6 separate regions of the Homo sapiens genome follow, and regions 1, 2, 3, 5 and 6 are each linked to region 4. The links are contacts of gene promoters, found by promoter capture Hi-C in human tissues and cell types (Jung and others, 2019). All regions are on one chromosome and are shown on one strand. Each heading gives the region's core, a stretch centred on a gene start or on the middle of the fragment in contact. The rest is flanking DNA. Distances are from core to core; before and after follow the strand shown.

The links. Contacts are between HindIII fragments. The study calls those that stand out against the background at their distance.
Region 1: a fragment that was not itself captured here is called in contact with the fragment with the promoter of POLD4 in region 4 in 3 of the 25 tissues and cell types used here (bladder, liver and lymphoblastoid cells).
Region 2: a fragment that was not itself captured here is called in contact with the fragment with the promoter of POLD4 in region 4 in 2 of the 25 tissues and cell types used here (liver and lymphoblastoid cells).
Region 3: a contact is called between the fragment with the promoter of AIP here and the fragment with the promoter of POLD4 in region 4, in 13 of the 25 tissues and cell types used here (adrenal gland, aorta, bladder and 10 more).
Region 5: a fragment that was not itself captured here is called in contact with the fragment with the promoter of POLD4 in region 4 in 11 of the 25 tissues and cell types used here (H1 embryonic stem cells, aorta, dorsolateral prefrontal cortex and 8 more).
Region 6: a fragment that was not itself captured here is called in contact with the fragment with the promoter of POLD4 in region 4 in 1 of the 25 tissues and cell types used here (lymphoblastoid cells).

What each region holds. Positions count from the first base shown.
Region 1 is chr11:67,199,492-67,202,191 of GRCh38, forward strand. The region is part of intron 5 of KDM2A (lysine demethylase 2A); the gene reads left to right. Among named protein-coding and RNA genes, the nearest start is that of GRK2, 66 kb to the right of the region's middle. The HindIII fragment of the contact is 3,125 bases long and covers 1-2,700 here.
Region 2 is chr11:67,218,978-67,221,677 of GRCh38, forward strand. KDM2A (lysine demethylase 2A) reads left to right here. Exons shown (of 21, transcript NM_012308.3): 10 at 311-426. LOC124902839 (small nucleolar RNA U13) reads left to right here and starts at 1,931; the gene lies at 1,931-2,039. The HindIII fragment of the contact is 8,883 bases long and covers 1-2,700 here.
Region 3 is chr11:67,481,735-67,484,434 of GRCh38, forward strand. AIP (AHR interacting HSP90 co-chaperone) reads left to right here and starts at 1,292. Exons shown (of 6, transcript NM_003977.4): 1 at 1,292-1,523. The coding sequence starts at 1,425. RefSeq lists an enhancer at 1,134-1,193. The HindIII fragment of the contact is 17,225 bases long and covers 794-2,700 here.
Region 4 is chr11:67,352,269-67,354,968 of GRCh38, forward strand. POLD4 (DNA polymerase delta 4, accessory subunit) reads right to left here and starts at 1,278. Exons shown (of 4, transcript NM_021173.5): 1 at 1,035-1,278; 2 at 720-809; 3 at 423-534. The coding sequence starts at 1,131. All of the region lies in intron 2 of LOC100130987 (a long non-coding RNA gene), which reads left to right. RefSeq lists enhancers at 1-540, 541-1,122, 1,116-1,165 and a silencer at 1,346-1,595. The HindIII fragment of the contact is 15,541 bases long and covers 1-2,700 here.
Region 5 is chr11:67,112,011-67,114,768 of GRCh38, forward strand. It overlaps LOC107984341 (a long non-coding RNA gene), which reads right to left. Exons shown (of 2, transcript NR_160735.1): 2 at 282-645. Among named protein-coding and RNA genes, the nearest start is that of KDM2A, 5.9 kb to the right of the region's middle. The HindIII fragment of the contact is 5,381 bases long and covers 1-2,758 here.
Region 6 is chr11:67,535,497-67,538,223 of GRCh38, forward strand. No RefSeq gene overlaps it. Among named protein-coding and RNA genes, the nearest start is that of CABP2, 13 kb to the left of the region's middle. The HindIII fragment of the contact is 5,334 bases long and covers 1-2,727 here.

The DNA of each region.
Region 1 (2,700 bases), core at 169-2,668, 150 kb before region 4:
CCTTATCACTGATAACGGAGAAAGTCTGAGTGGTTTGGATAGAAAATCAAACCAGCTATAACATTCCCTTAACAAACCCTAAGCCACAGTAAAGCCCTGATTCTCTTTAATTCTGTAAAGGCTGAGAGAGGTGAGGGAGCTGCAGAAGAAAAGTTTAAAGCCAGGAGAGGTTGGTTTATGAAGTTTAAGAAACCATCTTTGTAACAATGAAGTGCAAGGTAAAGCAGCAGCACATGCTGATATAGAAGCTGCAGCAGGTTATCCAGGAGAACCAGCTAGGATCATTGATGAAGGAGGCTGCACTAAACAACAGATTTTCCATGTAAATGAAACAGCCTTCTATTGGAAGAAGATAGCATCTAGGATTTTCATAGCTAGATAAAAGGCAGTTGCTTCAAGGGACAAGTTGACTCTCTTGTTAGGGGCTAATGCAGCTGGTGATTTTAATTGGAAACCAAATTTAACATTCCAAAAAAAGCTTATTTACCATTCCAAAATCCTAGGGCCCTTAAGAATTATGCTAAATCTACTCTATTAATGGAACAACAAAGCCTAGATGATATCACATCTGTTTTACAGCATGGTTTACTGAATTTATTAAGCCCACTGTGGAGATCTGCTCAGGAAAAAAGGTTCCTTTCAAAATGTTACTGCTCACTGGCAGTGTACCTCTTCACCCAAGACCTCTGATGGGAATGTACAAAGAGATTAATATTGTTTGTGTGGTTTTTTTTTTTCTTTTTAGACGGAGTCTCTCTCTGTTGCCCAGGCTGGAGTGCAGTGGCACGATCTCAGCTCACTGCAAGCTCCACCTCCTGGGTTCACGCCATTCTCCTGTCTCAGCCTCCCGAGTAGCTGGGACTACAGGCGTCCGCCACCACGTCCGGCTAATTTTTTTCGTATTTTTAGTAGAGATGGGGTTTCACCATGTTAGCCAGGATGATCGCGATCTCCTCACCTCATGATCCGCCCGCCTCAGCCTCCCAAAGTGCTGGGATTATAGGCGTGAGCGACCGTGCCCAGCCTGTTTGGTTTTTTAAGACAAGGTCTCATTCTGTTGCCCAAGTTGGAGTGCAATGGTACAATCATGGCTCACTGCAGGCTCAGTGTCCCTGGGCTCAGGTGATCCTTCCACCTCAGCCTTTAGCTGGGACTACAAGCACATGCCAACACACCCAGTTAATTTTTGTGTTTTGGTAGAGACACAGTTTGACCCTGTTACCCAGGCTGGTTTAGAACTCCTGGGCTCAAGGGATTTGCCTGCCTCAGCTTCCCAAAGTGCTGGGATTACAGGCATGAGCTACCATGCCTTGCCTGAGATTAATACCGTTTTCATGCCAGATAGCAGTATTCATTCTGTGGCCCATGGATCAAGGAGTAATCTCAACTTTAGTCTTATTATTTAAGAAATATATTTCATGGCCTGGCACAGTGGCTCACACCTGTAATCCCAGCACTTTGGGAGGTCGAGGCGGGTGGATCACGAGGTCAGGAGATTGAGACCATCTGGCTAACACGGTGAAACCCAGTCTCTACTGAAAATAGAAAAAAAATTAGCCGGGCGTGGTGGCGGGCGCTTGTAGTCCCAGCTACTGGGGAGGCTGAGGCAGGAGAATGGCGTGAACCCGGGAGGCGGAGCTTGCAGTGAGCCGAGATTGCACCACTGCACTACAGCCTGGGCGACTGAGCAAGACTCTGTCTCAAAAAAAAAAATATATATATATATATGTGTGTGTGTGTGTGTATATATATATATTTCATAAGGCTATAGCTGACATAGTGATTCTGCTGGTAAATCTGGACCAAATAAATTGAAAAACATCTGGAAAGGATTCACCACTGTAGATGCCATTAAGAACATATTTATGGCCAGGCATAGTGGCTCATGTCTGTAATCCCAATGTTTTGATAGGCCCAGGTGGTGGATCCCTTGAGGCCAGGAGTTTGAGACCAGCCTGGGAAACATAGTGAGACCATCTCTACAAAAAATTAGCCATGGCCCGGTGCGGTGGCTCACGCCTGTAATCCTAGCAGTTTGGGAGGCCAAGGTGGGCAGATCACAAGTCAGGGGTACAAGACCAGCCTGACCAGTATGGTGAAACCTGGTCTCTACTAAACATACAAAAATTAGCCGAGTGTGGTGGCATGGGCCTGTAGTCCCAGCTACTTGGGAGGCTGAAGCAGGAGAATCACTTGAACCTGGGAGACGGAGGTTGCAGTGAGCCAAGATCACACCACCCCACCACACTCCAGCCTAGGCAACAGAGCTAGACTCCATCTCAAAAAAAAAAAAAAAAAAAAAAAAAAAAAAAAATTAGCCATGCTTGGTGGTGTACACCTGTAGTCCCAACTATTTGGGTGGCTGAGGTGGGAGGATCACTTGAGCCCAGGAATTCGAGGTTGCAATGAGCTCTGATCTTGCCACTCTATTCCAGCCTGGGCATGAGAGTGAGACCCTGTCTCTAAAAAAAATAATTAAAATGAAAAAGAGCATTTGTGGTACATGGGAGGAGGTCAAAATATCAACATTAACAGGAGTTTGGAAAAAGTTGGTTCCCACCCTTATTGATGACTTTGAGGGGTTCAAGACTTCAGTGGAGGAAGTAACTGCAAATGTGGTGAAAATAGTGAGAGAGCTAGAATTAGAAATGGAGTCGAAGATGCGACTGAATTGCTGCAATCTATAATGAAACTTGAGCA
Region 2 (2,700 bases), core at 65-2,564, 130 kb before region 4:
GGACACCCCTGAATTGTAAACTATCTTGTACAGAGCCTGGTTTATAGTTGGTGCTCCAGTAAACGTTTATTATGTGCTAAGCATTTGATGTGCATTTTCTCATTTAATGCTCATGAGCAACCATAAGAGGTATTATTTATCCTGGTTTTATAGAGGAAATTGAGGCTTTGAGAGATTAAGTAACTTGACAAACCACTAAGAAGCAGAATCAGAGTGAAGAGTGTGATCTAGGGGTCTTGTACTAGTTCTCTGAGAGAGACTTACTGTAATGTGTGTTTTCAGCCACTGCCCTCTGTTCCCCTTCTCCTAGGCTGGATTCATGCTGTGTATACTCCTACAGACACATTAGTGTTTGGGGGCAATTTTTTGCATAGCTTCAACATCCCTATGCAGTTAAAAATATACAACATTGAAGATCGGACACGGGTAAGTAATCTTATGTAACAGTTGCATGTGAAGAGGTTTACTCCAGTTATGATAGATGTTACAAGAGATTCACTGATGGTTTATCAAAACTTCCATTTTTCTTTCAGTTAAAATGCAGTGTTGACATTTTGGGAACACACAAAATTTTAAATTTAATTTTTTTTTTTTTAAGGCAGAATCTTGTTCTGTTTTCCAGGCTAGAGTGCAGTGGCGTGATCATGGATGATTGCAGCCTCAACCTCCCAGGCTCAAGCATCTTCCTGCCTCAGCCTCCCAAGTAGCTGGGACCGTGGGTGCACACCACATCTGACTAATTTTTAATTTTTTTCGTAGAGACTTGGTCTCACTGCGTTGCCCAGGCTGGTCTAGAACTCCTGGTTCAAGCAGTCCTCCCACCTCAGCCTCCCAAAGTGCTGGGATTACAGGTGTGAGCCACTGCGACTGGCCAAATAAAAATTTTAACACGATTTACATACTCCGTTTTAGGGACTCCAATTCTGTGAGGTTTTTGGTATCTTGGATTTCTTTTTCTTTCCTTTTTTTAAAATTTTATTTTATTTTATTTTATTTTTTAGCCAACACCATAGTGAATGGGAAAAAGTAACATTTTTTTCTTTTAATATTTGGGACAGAGTCTCACTCTGTTGCCCAGGCTGGTGTGCAGTGTCACAGTCATGGCTCACTGCAGCCTCAACCTCCCTGGGCTCAGTTGATCCTCCCACCTCAGCCTCCCAGGTAGCTGGGACTACAGGCACACGCCACCACATGCAGCTAATTTTTTTGTATTTTTTGGAGATGGGTTTTTGCTGTGTTGCCCAGGCTTGTCTTGAACTCCTGGGCTCAAGTGATCTGCCCGCTTTGGCCTCCTAAAGTGCTGGGATTACAAGTGTGAGCTACTGCATCCCACAGTATCTTGGATTTTTATAAGGCCAGACATTTACCTCTGGTAATCTCTTGAGCCATGTGTTTCATTTTTATGCTCACAGAATAATTTGGTGTAATGGGGCTTATCAACCCAAATTTCAGAACTTTAAATTCATGTATCTTTTTCTACACTGATGACTATACTCAAAGCATCTTACTTTAATTATATAAATGTATATACTGTCTTTCTCAACTGGGGTTTCAAGAGAGAATTAAGCCCAAAATAAAATAATTTGTGTATCTTATTTTCTCATTTTTCTCTAGGATGATACACAGCTAATACCCTTCTAGATGCATAGAAAAAAGTTAATTTATTATATACAATGGATACCTTAAGGCAAGAGTTGACAAACTTTTCCTGCAAAGGACCAGATAGTAAATATTTTAGGCTTCGTGGGTCATAAAGTGTCTATTGTAACTGTTTAACCCTACCTTGTAGCATGAAATACTTAAACAAATGAGTGTGGCTCAAATAATATAAAATTTTATTCATAGACACTGAAAGTTGAATTTCAGATAACTTTAACATGTCACAGAATACTCTTAAATTTTTTTCAACCATTAAAAAATGTAAAAAACGATCCTTTTATATAGTTCATGATCATGATTAGGTGTTCATGCACGTATGTGAAAGATGCCACCCTTGAACCTTGTTACTATTAATACGTCAGCACATTACCTGTCTGACCCGAAAAAAAAAAAAAAAGGTAAAAAACACTCCTAGTTCACAGGAATCATAAAAAGAGGCAGCAGGCCAAATCCACTAAGTGTTGTTTGCTGGCTAGCCTCCACCTTAGAGAATGAGAGCTTATTTTTTAGCAGAATTCTAATTGGTAAGGGCTGAATCATATATGAAAGTATAGATGATACTGGGATTAAACAGCAATTAGAATATTTGGGGGTTGTGATGTTTGTAAGTTACTCTCAAGTAGCTTAGCAGAATACTAAGCTAGTATGGAGATGAGCAGATGTGGAGAAATGTTAACAGTTGGAGAATTGCAGAGAAGAGTGTAGAACTATTAATGCTACTGCTCTTGAAACTTTTTGGTAGAATTAAAAGTATTAAAAATTTTAAAATAACAATTAATGAAGAATTCACAACTTTTATATGAATGGTCTTTTATATATTATAGGAATGGTCACTGACCTATGTACTGCAATAATAGTCAACCATTATGGTGCCTATTTTGCAACATTTATTTTGGTGTAGGAGTTACGTATCACTATACACATCATTGATATTATTGTTGGAGTTACAGGAATTGCCCTACTAGTAGAATTAAGAGAGGAAGCCAGTGCTTCTTCAACACATTTTATAAAAGTACATTTCTTTTTATTTGTTAAGAGTAA
Region 3 (2,700 bases), core at 42-2,541, 130 kb after region 4:
CTGAGTAGCTGGGACCACAGGCGTGCACCACCACACCACCTAATTTTTTGTATTTTTGGTGAAGATGGTATTTTGCCATGTTGTCCAGGCTGGTCTTGAACTTGTGAGCTCAAGGAGATCCAGGAGATCCACTTGCCTTGGCCTCCCAAAGTGCTGGTATTAGAGGCATAAGCCACCACACCTGCCCCATACTGATGCATTTTTACATGACATTAGTGAATTCAATTAGCCTAGTATTTTATTTAGAATGTTTCATATCAGCTGGGCGCTGTGGCTCACGCCTGTAATCCCAGCACTTTGGGAGGCCGAGGTGGGCGGATCACGAGGTCCGGAGATTGAGACCATCCTGGCTAACACGGTGAAACCCTGTCTCTACTAAAAATACAAAAAATTAGCCGGGCATGGTGGCGGGCGCCTGTAGTCCCAGCTGCTCGGGAGGCTGAGGCAGGAGAATGGCGTGAACCCGGGAGGCAGAGCTTGCAGTGAGCTGAAATTGTGCCACTGCACTCCAGCGTGGGTGACAGAGCGAGACTCCGTCTCAAAAAAAGAAAAACAAAAGTTGTTTTAGCCCCAAAGTACCTCATTTCTCTTTTCTTTTAATTTAATTTTTTTTTTTTGTTTTGTTTTGAGACAGCATCTCGCTCTGTCGGCTAGCCTGGAGTGCAGTGGCACGAACACGGCCCACTGCAGCCTCGAACTCCTGGGCTCAAGCGATCCTCTCGCCTCGGCCTCCCAAAGTGGTGGGGTTACAGGGCCACCGCGCCCGGCGCTAAAGTACCTCATTTCTATCATTCATCGATTATTCCCTAATATTAATTGGGCACAACTATGACTCATTTCCGACCCCGCAATGGGCTCTCTTGGTCTCCTTCTCCACCTTTCTTTCCCTCTTCCTCTTTTTATTTTTTGAAAGAGGAAGATCCAGGATGCAAGAGTCCCGACAATCATACTAGATATGCGAAAGAGAAAAAGCCGGAAGAAAATACACAAAAATCATAACACTTTGAGGGTGTGGCTTACGGGTGTTTTTTTTTTTTTTCATTTTCCTAACTCTGCAGTGCTGTTATATTCCATCCACAACTTCAAACAAAGTGCCACACGGCCGCAGTCCCAATCAATTCAATGACAATTGTTAGGGACGTCCTCGTCCCGCCCGGCCCGCGGACCCCGGCCCTTCCTCCTTGACAGGCTGGGGTCCAGCCCCGAGACATTCCTAGGCTCCGCCCCCGAGCAGACGCGCGCGCTCAGCCCCAGCGCAGAGAACCAATCACCATCCGTTTCCACGCTCAGTCCCTTTTGGCTTCTGCCCTCAACCAAAATGGCGCTAGCTCGGAAGCTGCCGAGGTGCTAGGAGTTGCCGAAGCAAGTCCGGAAGCTACCGAGCGAGTCCGGAAGTTGCCGAAAGGGAGCAGCGGGGAAGGAGGATGGCGGATATCATCGCAAGACTCCGGGAGGACGGGATCCAAAAACGTGTGATACAGGAAGGCCGAGGAGAGCTCCCGGACTTTCAAGATGGGACCAAGGTTCGTGTCTACCCTACCCTTCTCCCCCTCTGCGGCGTGGTGCGCATGCGAGGCGGGAGGAGGCCTTAGGCGAGAGGTTGCGCATGCCCAGAGGGCAGCGTCCACTGCCCCTACCGCTCACATGCAGAACTCGACGCTGATTGGGCTGAATTTAAGTAGGGGGTGAATTCGGGCCTGTCTGCCCCGCCCCCTGGCTCGGCCTTGTAGCAGCATTGGTGGGGGAGGCCGTCAGTCATCACAAGCGGGTTGGGGTTGGGGGTTGATCTCAGTGCTTGGGCAGACCCCACGCTGGAGGAAACCCAGGGCCGGGAGTGGTCCTCGGGTATCTGGGTTTCAAGGCTCATGATCCTTTGTAGATGGAAGGGCCTTCTGAAAACACTTAGACCAACTGCCGCTGTTTAGAGTGGAAAACCAAGACCCTGGGACGTGCAAAGCCGGAGAACGGGCCCAGAGGTCAGGTCTCCCAGACAGGGACTCTTTAGCAGCCTTCCTGCTGCACTAGGGGCTTGTTGGGACAGATGAGGGTTGGGAAGTAAAGAACCTCCCACTTTTCTCCTTTTTGCCAGGCCCCCAGATCCAGCCCCTCTGCCCGCTTCTCCCCCAACCTACAACTCCAGGCTTCCCTGCTTCTCCTGTAGTTGCCTCCTCCCGGAGTGCTTTTCCCAGCTGCCACTTGTTTGCAGAGTAGGGAACCTCCCAGGGGCAGCCCCTGTGCCCAGCAGAGCAGTCAGGCAGGACATGCACATTGAGCAAATGAGCACATGCCCCCTGGCCAGCACCGTGCCGAATCGGGCAGCTAAGCATCCTAGCCCAGTGCAGTATAAGTGCCCTGAGAGCAGAGGGGAGCTGCATGGCTGGAGTGATCCGCTGTATGAAAAGATATCTTCTCTAAGAAGAGACAGGATGTGTGGTGTGGGTTCATGCCCCCATGTGCTGGGGGGTTGGTGGCGTTGGAAGAAGGGGCTGGCAAGGGGGATCCTGGATGGAACAGACATCAGAAGGAGAGATGTGAACAATGGCACCCCAAGATCAGAAACAGGTGGTGTTAAATAACCAATCGCCAGCACTGATTGAGTGCTCACTATTCGAACATTGTGCTACATGCTTCACACGTTTATTTCCTACAATGTGAGATAGGTACTGTTGTTGATTCCGTTTTACCGATGTGGAAACTGAC
Region 4 (2,700 bases), core at 28-2,527:
GGAGGCTGAGGTGGGTGGGATCACGAGGTCAGGAGATCAAGACCATCCTGGCTAACACGGTGAAACCCTGTCTCTACTAAAAATAGAAAAAATTAGCCGGGCGTGTTGGCGGGCGCCTGTAGTCCCAGCTACTTGGGAGGCTGAGACAGGAGAATGGCGTGAACCCGAGAGGCGGAGTTTGCAGTGAGCCGAGATCGCGCCACTGCACTCCAGCCTGGGCAACAGAGCAAGACTCTGTCTCAAAAAAAAAGAATTATTATAGTGGCGTGTCCTCCTGAGCCAGGCACCTCATAGAATCTTCTTGCCTGTTCAGCAAGGCCTTCCAACCCTCCATCCATTTCTCCCTCAGGTCAGGACAGCAGGGTGACAGTGCCTGGAGAAGGCCCTGGCTCCCCTGAAAGCCCTCCCGGCCTGTCTCTGACCTGCACTGGAAGCGGGGGTCTCCGGGGTGGGTCTTCAGCACCTGCCACACCTCTGGGGGAGGCTCCAAGCCCATCTGCTTGGCCCGACACCAGCGCTGCAGCCGTGTGATCCCTGCCAGGGTGGGAAGAAGACTCTGGAGACTTGTGGGGGGTGGGGTAGAGTCTGAGCTGGAGAATGTGTGTGTTGGGGGGAGACAGTTCCTGAGGGTCAGAGTCACGCAAGCGCTTGGGTGACTTCAGAGACGTGTGGGTGACTGGCTGGGAGAGGCGCCTCCGTGGGGCTGGGTGGGTTCTCACCGGTGCAGGGCCCGTACTGCCAGGCCAGGTCAAACTGCCTCAGCAGCTCCAGCTCCGCTTCCTCCTCGTCGCGGGGCTGGGGCTCCTCCCCTGCAATGACAGCTGCTCTTCAGTACGAGGTTGGCTTCAGTCTCCTGCCCCTCACCTCCCAGCCTTCCTCACCACCGCTTTGCCTCTGCCACCCCGCAGCTAGACCTGGTGTCGGGAGGGGAGGACAGGCCACCTTTCCCTTTCCATCGGCCCCTCCGCCCCTCTAGGGGCCTCCTCTAGGCCCCTCCGTGTCCACTCCTCCTGCCTCCCTCACACCTCAGAGACCTAGCTCGGGTGCCAGCTCCCCCTTGCTGTGCCCAGCGGGCCCCTCCCTCCTCTTCACAACCGGGTAGGAATCAGTGATGAGCCGCTTCCGGCCCATGGCGGCCACCCAGGCAGGCAGAGAAGGAGGCAACTGCGGGGAAGAGGAGAGACCGGCCAGTGGGCGCGAGAAAGACAGCTGCTGAGAGAGACAGACGGGGCCAGGCCAGCGGCGGGCAGACAAGATGACCCAGACAAACCGAGAGAGGAAGTCGCCGGGGTCCAGGGAGGGACGCCTCCCCCACCCCCAAAAGCACGCAAACAGGAAAGACTTCAGCCAATGGCAGGCCGCCTATGCGGGGCGGGGCCCTGGCGCTAGCCAATGGTAGGCAGTGTAGGGTGAGGGGCGGGGCGGTGCCTCAGCTGTGGGCCGCGGGAGGAGGGGCAGGCTGGGGCGGGGGACCTGTCGGGATGCCCCGACTTCACCACCTTCCCCGGCCCCCATTGGTCTGCTGTGGGTCCCGAGAGACTTCAGGAGAGTTATCTTCAGCCTCTCACTTCCCGTTTTCCCTTCCTAGGCAAATGTTCTTTTCAGCTTCGCTAATCCCCGTGGCCAGTTTGTAACTCCCTAGAGTCCAGCTGGAGCCTTCACTCGGTCCTTTGGCCCGCCCCGCCTTGTGGGGGCAGGTCTGGAGGTCTGAAGAGAGTTTGGGCTAATCCAGGCCCCTTCCCGGCTCCCACCCAACCCCCACTGGCCCCAGGAGACCTGGCTGGAGAAGCCCATGGGTTCTGAAACCTCCTTTCTCACAGTCTGTGCCCAAAGATGCTGCCCACTCTTAGTCCGAGTAAGTGTTTGCCGTTTTGACTCTCCTGGGGTCCCAAGTCGTGTCCGGCCCGCCCCACCAGTCAGGAAGATTCCATACTGAGTAGGAAGGCAGAGCAAGGGTCTGGTCCCCCCACCACAATGTGTTTGGATCCCTAGTTCTTCACTGGCAAAATCTGCCCTGTCTCTCACAATAATGTGAGTCTGAGCAGAAAATATTAATAATAAACCTAACACTCATTGCACGTACCATGTGCCAAGTACTGTTCTAAGCACTTTCCCACATGTTAATTAAAATAGATGTCAAAAAGTTTTTGAAAGTAGGAAGTATAGCTAAATGATTATCACTGCTGATAGTCACAGGCATTGTAGGGCCCCAATCAAACCACAGTCTCTCTTGCACCCCAGGAGCTCACTGTCACAAGGCAGACAGATGCACAGTTGTCAGTGAGAGGCTATAATTCCTACCAGAAGAGGGAAAGGGTGGGTCAGAGATTGGTTAGGACCACAGGGATGATTAGCATTGGAAGGCCTCCTGGAGGAGGTGGACTGCTGTAAACAATGTCTCTCAATTCTCCACCCATGACCTTTGTCCCTTGGGCTCCTGTCATCACTGACTCACCCATACTGCTGCCTCCCCCTCACCAACTTCCTGGCAGGAGGCAAAAGTACTGGCCAGTGGGAGTCTGGGAACCAGCACAGGGACCAGCCCAGCTCTAATCACCCTCCAGAGATCCCATCCGGTTCTTCCTTCCAGGGATACTGGGAGGGTGGGGCACAGACTCCTGGGCTGCTGCCTGCTCAGAGGCCTCTGCCTCCTCCTTTCCCTGCTCTGGGGTCTGGGTGTTCTGCACTGGAAGAGGGCTA
Region 5 (2,758 bases), core at 240-2,739, 240 kb before region 4:
ACTTAAAACTTTGTTAAAATGGTAAATCTCACATCAAGTGTTCTTACCACAATAAAATAAAAATAAATTTAAAATAGGAGAACTGGCCAGGTGCAGTGGCTCATGCCTGTAATCCCAGGCACTTTGGGAGGTCAAGGCAGGAGTATCACATGAGGCCAGGAGTTCGAGACCAGCCTGGGGAACATAGTGAGACCCTGTTTCTATGAAAAAAAAAATTACCAAGTAAAAAATTTTTTAAAAATAGGAAAACCAGAAATCCTTTTTTTTTCTTTTTTTTTTTGAGATGGAGTTTCACTCTTGTTGTCCAGGCTGGAGTGCAAAAGCGCGATTTCGGGTCACTGCAACCTCTGCCTCCCGGGTTCAAGTGATTCTCCTGTCTCAGCCTCCCAAGTAGCTGTGATTACAGGCATGTGCCACCATGCCCAGCTAATTTTGTATTTTTAGTAGACATGGGGTTTCTCCATGTTGGTCAGGCTGGTCTCGAACTCCCAACCTCAGGTGATCTGCCCACCTTGGCCTCCCAAAGTGCTGGGATTACAGGCATGAGGCACTGTGCAAGACCTCAGAAATCCTTTCTAAAATAAGTTGTCTTCTAGTTTCCAAAGGGTATTCATGTCCATTAGTCCATTTCACTCCACAACAATCCTAGGAGGAAACAGGGCAGGAGTCACTACTTCTGTTTTATTTATATACATTATATATATAAAATATATATGTTTTAAATATATGTTTTATATATATTATATATATTTATATACATGTATTATGTTTTATATATATTATATATATTTATATACATATATTATATATAATATATATTTTTTTGAGACAGAGTCTTGCTCTGTTGCCCAGGCTAGAGTGCAGTGGCACGATCTCGGGCTCACTGCAACCTCCGCCTGCCTCCCAGGCTTAAGTGATTCTCCTACCTCAGCCTCCCGAGTAGCTGGGAATACAGGCATGTGCCACCGCGCCCAGCTAATTTTTGTATTTTTAGTAGAGATAGGGTTTCACAATGTTGCCCAGGCTGGTCTTGAACTCCTGACCTCAGGTGATCTGCCCGCCTTGGTCTCCCAAAGTGCTGGGATTACAGGCTTAAGCCACCGCGCCCAGCCTACTCTGTTTTATTAAAGAGAACTGAAGTTCTGACGGGTTCAGAACCTCTCACAAAGTGGCTGAAGGAACACCAGCTTTAGCAGAAACTGATGAAAGGTAGCGAATGCCCTTGAAGAAGATAAAAAAAGATCAGACTCATTGGGAGGGGCTAAACAGGTCTAAGTGCTTAAGCATTTGGCCCTTTGGGGAAGTGGCTGGAGCCCTGTATGACTGTCACCACCAACCCAAGCTGGGAATCTAGTGCAAGGTTGCAAACAGACCCTGAAACCCCAGGGTGCCAGAAACTTCCCCCAGCAAGCACAGGTGTAGCTGAGGCACAGGCTCTGCATCTTAGAGCTCCACTCTCGGGCACAGCAGGAAGTCCCACCCTTTTAGAAGTGAGAAATGAGGGTGGCCTGGCCCCAAAGCGAAGCTAAGGCTGCTAAAGAGCAGGTGGGGCCCAGACACTGCTGCAGTTGCCCCAACAGCCAAAGTACACCCCAGCGCTCAGGAGCAGTGGGTCTGCACAGCGGAAGGTGACATACCTGGAAAAGATGGCAGCAAGGAAGCATGGGGCCAGGGAGGGTGGTGGTCCCATGGTCCCAAGGAAAGCGTCAGCCACATTCCATGCAAGAACCTCATGTGACACCCATGTTTGATGATCCAAGAATCTGCAGGGCATTTCTGCTTCATTTTTTTCCCCCTGATCAATTCAGGTTCCAAACTCAAAAAAAAAAAAAAAAGAAAAGAAAAGAAAAAAGAAAGAAAACTTTCAGCTGGGCGTGGTGGCTCACGGCTGTAATCCCAGCACTTTGGGAGGCGGAGGTGGGTGGATCACCAGGTCAGGAATTCGAGACCAGCCTGGCCAACATGGTGAAACCCCGTCTCTACTAAAAATACAAAAATTAGCCAGGCACGGTGGCGGGCACCTGTAATTCCAGCTACTCAGGAGGCTGAGACAGGTGAATCGCTTGAACCCAGGAGGTGGAGTTTGCAGTGAGCTGAGATCGCGCCACTGCACTCTAGCCTGGGCAACAGAGCGAGACTCCAACTCAAAAAAAGAAAAAAAAGAAAACTTTCTATCACTTAAAGCTTATAATCACCCCCCAACACCCTTTAACCCTAGAAGAAGTTTTCTTTCTTTTTTTCTTTTTTCCCGGGGTGGGGGGTGCGGGTGGAGGGAGATGTTCAGGAAATGGTTAAGTAACAAAATCAGAGAGCACGGGATTGAGGTGATTAAGGGCAACAAATGGATGGTAAAGGAAAGTGGGAAAGCCATTCAGTCAGATGATACTGGGCCAGGAGAGTGAGATGAACATGGAGGAGGGGGTGGGCCAAATGATGGAGAGAAGGCTGGAAAGAAAGAGACTTCAGGAGGCAGGTGATGAGGAGAAAGAGGCAGCTGGAGTCAGGGAAGAGGGAAGAATAGAAAGCGGAGACACCAGGGTCGGGGGTCGGGGAGAGAAACCAGGAGTTAGGATAGGGAAGAGGGCCGGGTGTGGTGGCTCATGCCTGTTATCCCAGCACTTTGGGAGGCAGAGGGGGGCGGATCACCTGAGACAGGGAGTTTGAGACCAGCCTGGCCAACATGGTGAAACCCTGTCTCTACTAAAAACACAAAAATTAGCCAGGCATGGTGGCGGGTGCTTGTAATCCCAACTTCTCA
Region 6 (2,727 bases), core at 1-2,500, 180 kb after region 4:
TGCCCACCTTGGCCTCCCAAAGTGCTGGGATTATAGGCATGAGCCACCATGCCCAGCCAGTTACATGGTTTTTAATTATCACTTTGGTTAAATGAGTAACTATTTTGCAATGACCTGTGCTTCTGTTTTGATCAAATGTTTTAATCTTTTAACATCTTTAACAAACATCCTCAAAATCAAAATCCTGTTAAGTCTCTAACTTAGTTTTATTGCTGGGGCTTACTAAAGCTATAAAAGTTAATTGCTGCAAGGTTGTAGAATTTTTTTTACACCTTCTAGTTAGACCATGAAGACCAGTATCACCACCTTCAGCCCCTTGGAGAAGGTCCTTATCAGGTGCTATTGACTAATCCTCGTACTGTTAAATTACAGGGCTTTGACTTCTGGGTATCCACATCTCATCTGAAAAAGGCATCAACTCCTGCCAGTATCTGATGCCAAACTCAAGTTAACCAAAGCCTTGTCTTTAGAACTGGGCAAAAGTGACAAAGTAAACTGTTCTCATGAGACACAGGAACAGGCCTGTATTCAAAAACATTAAGATCCATTTAATAATTTTTCCTCTATCTGAAATAATCTAATTTATTCTATGCCTTGATGCTAAATAATTTAAATGTTTGGCTACTTGTGAACTTCCTTTCCTGCCCTGCTCAAAACTAGGTAGAGCTGGCTGGGTGTGGTGGCTCACGCCTGTAATCCCAGCACTTTGGGAGGCCGAGATGGGAAGATCACTTGAGGCCAGGAGTTCGAGACCAGCCTGGTCAATACTGTGAGACCCCCATCTCATTAAAAAACAAAAAACAACTAGGTATGGCTTATGACCTTTTGTTTAAAATGTTGCTAATTACTTATATTTTGTTTTACCTCCAGAATTTGAAATGATTCAATCCCTCCAGGCCCAGAGACTATCATATGAGATTGTAAGAGCTGATTTTGAGGGATAAAATTAGCTCAGACCCTCCAAATCAAAGATGGAACCTTCAGGGAATCACTAGCTGGGTATACCTGTCCAAGATTAAACTTGATTTTTTTGTTGTTTGTTTGTTTGTTTTTCTGGAGTTTTGCTTTTGTTGCCCAGGCTGGAGTGCAATGGCATAATCTCATCTCACTGCAACGTGAAGCTAATCAGGAACTAGTTCTTGGCTCACTGAAGTTAATCAAAGATTAAACTTCAGGGAATCACTAGCTGGGTACACCTGTCCAAGATTAAACCTGTTATTTTTCTTTTGTTTTTTTTTTTATCCTGGTGATGGAGTTTCGCTTTTGTTGCCCAGGCTGGAGTGCAATGGCACAATCTTGGCTCACTGCAACCTCTGCCTCCTGTGTTCAAGTGATTCTCCTGCCTCAGCCTCCTGAGTAGCTGGGATTACAGGTGTGTACCACCTGTAAAGATGGGCACACAGATGCCTAAGCAGCTAATAAAACGCTTGTGTTTTGTATAACTAATTGCTACAAGCCAAGATTACAATGGCTCAATGCATAGAATTTATAGATAAGTTAATTTTATAACCTTGCATTTTGGCTTTTGAGTTTTGGCTCTTATGTTGCTTAAAGGGGGTCCTAAAGCTGATGAATGCCTGCCTACCTCCATTCCCACCTGACCTAGAATGTTTAATTGACTATACAACTTTTGACTCTAAGTCCCTTGGCCATAAAGTCCCACCAAGGGACATAATGGACCCAGGACAGGTAGCACACCACCCTGGCATCAATATGGGACAAAATAAAAGCTAGGCCAGGCCGGGTGTGGTAGCTCACACCTGTAATCCCAGCACTTTGGGAGGCCGAGGCAGGCAGATCACCTGAGGTCAGGAGTTCAAGATCAGCCTGGCCAACATGGTGAAACCATGTCTGCACTAAAAATACAAAAATTGGCCAGACATGGTGGCGTGCACCTGTAATCCCAGCTACTAGGAAGGCTGAGGCAGGAGAATTGCTTGAACCCGGGAGGTGGAGGTTGCAGTGAGCCAAGATCGCACCATTGCACTCCAGCCTTGGTGACAGAGCATGACTCTGTCTTAAAAATAAATAAATAATAAATAATAAAAGCTTGGCTATTGATACTGCCTCTGGCATACCTTGACAAAAAAGGGGATATATCCACTAAAGAAATAAATAAAACCCTAAACCTCTCAACAGAATGGACCCCTCTCTTGGTCAAAGGGAATTAAAAGAAACCTTTAAAAATGTAAAAATGGCCAGGTGTGGTGGCTCGCGCCTGTAATCCCAGCACTTTGAGAGGCCGAGGCAGGCGGATCACAAGGTCAGGAGATTGAGACCATCCTGGCTAACACGGTGAAACCCCATCTCTACTAAAAATACAAAAACAAAATAAGCTGGGTGTGGTGGTGGGTGCCTGTAGTCCCAGCTACTCGGCAGGCTGAGGCAGGAGAATGGCGTGAACCCAGGAGGTGGAGCTTGCAGTGAGCCGAGATTGCACCACTGCACTCCAGCCTGGGTGACAGAGCAAGACTCCATCTAAAAAAAACAAAACAAACAAACAAACAAAAAACAAACAAAACAAAACAAAAAAAACCTAGCAAGGCACTTTCCACACTAGTCACGACCCACGGTTCTAAGATGCTTACAGCTAAGGAATCGGCTTGGTACTGCCTGCAAGGACACATTCCTGCAGCCACAGAAAGTTCGACGTCCCAATACCCGTAACAACATATGCTTTCAAGATAATTACAGTTATGCTTTGATGCACTCACACACTAAAATGTC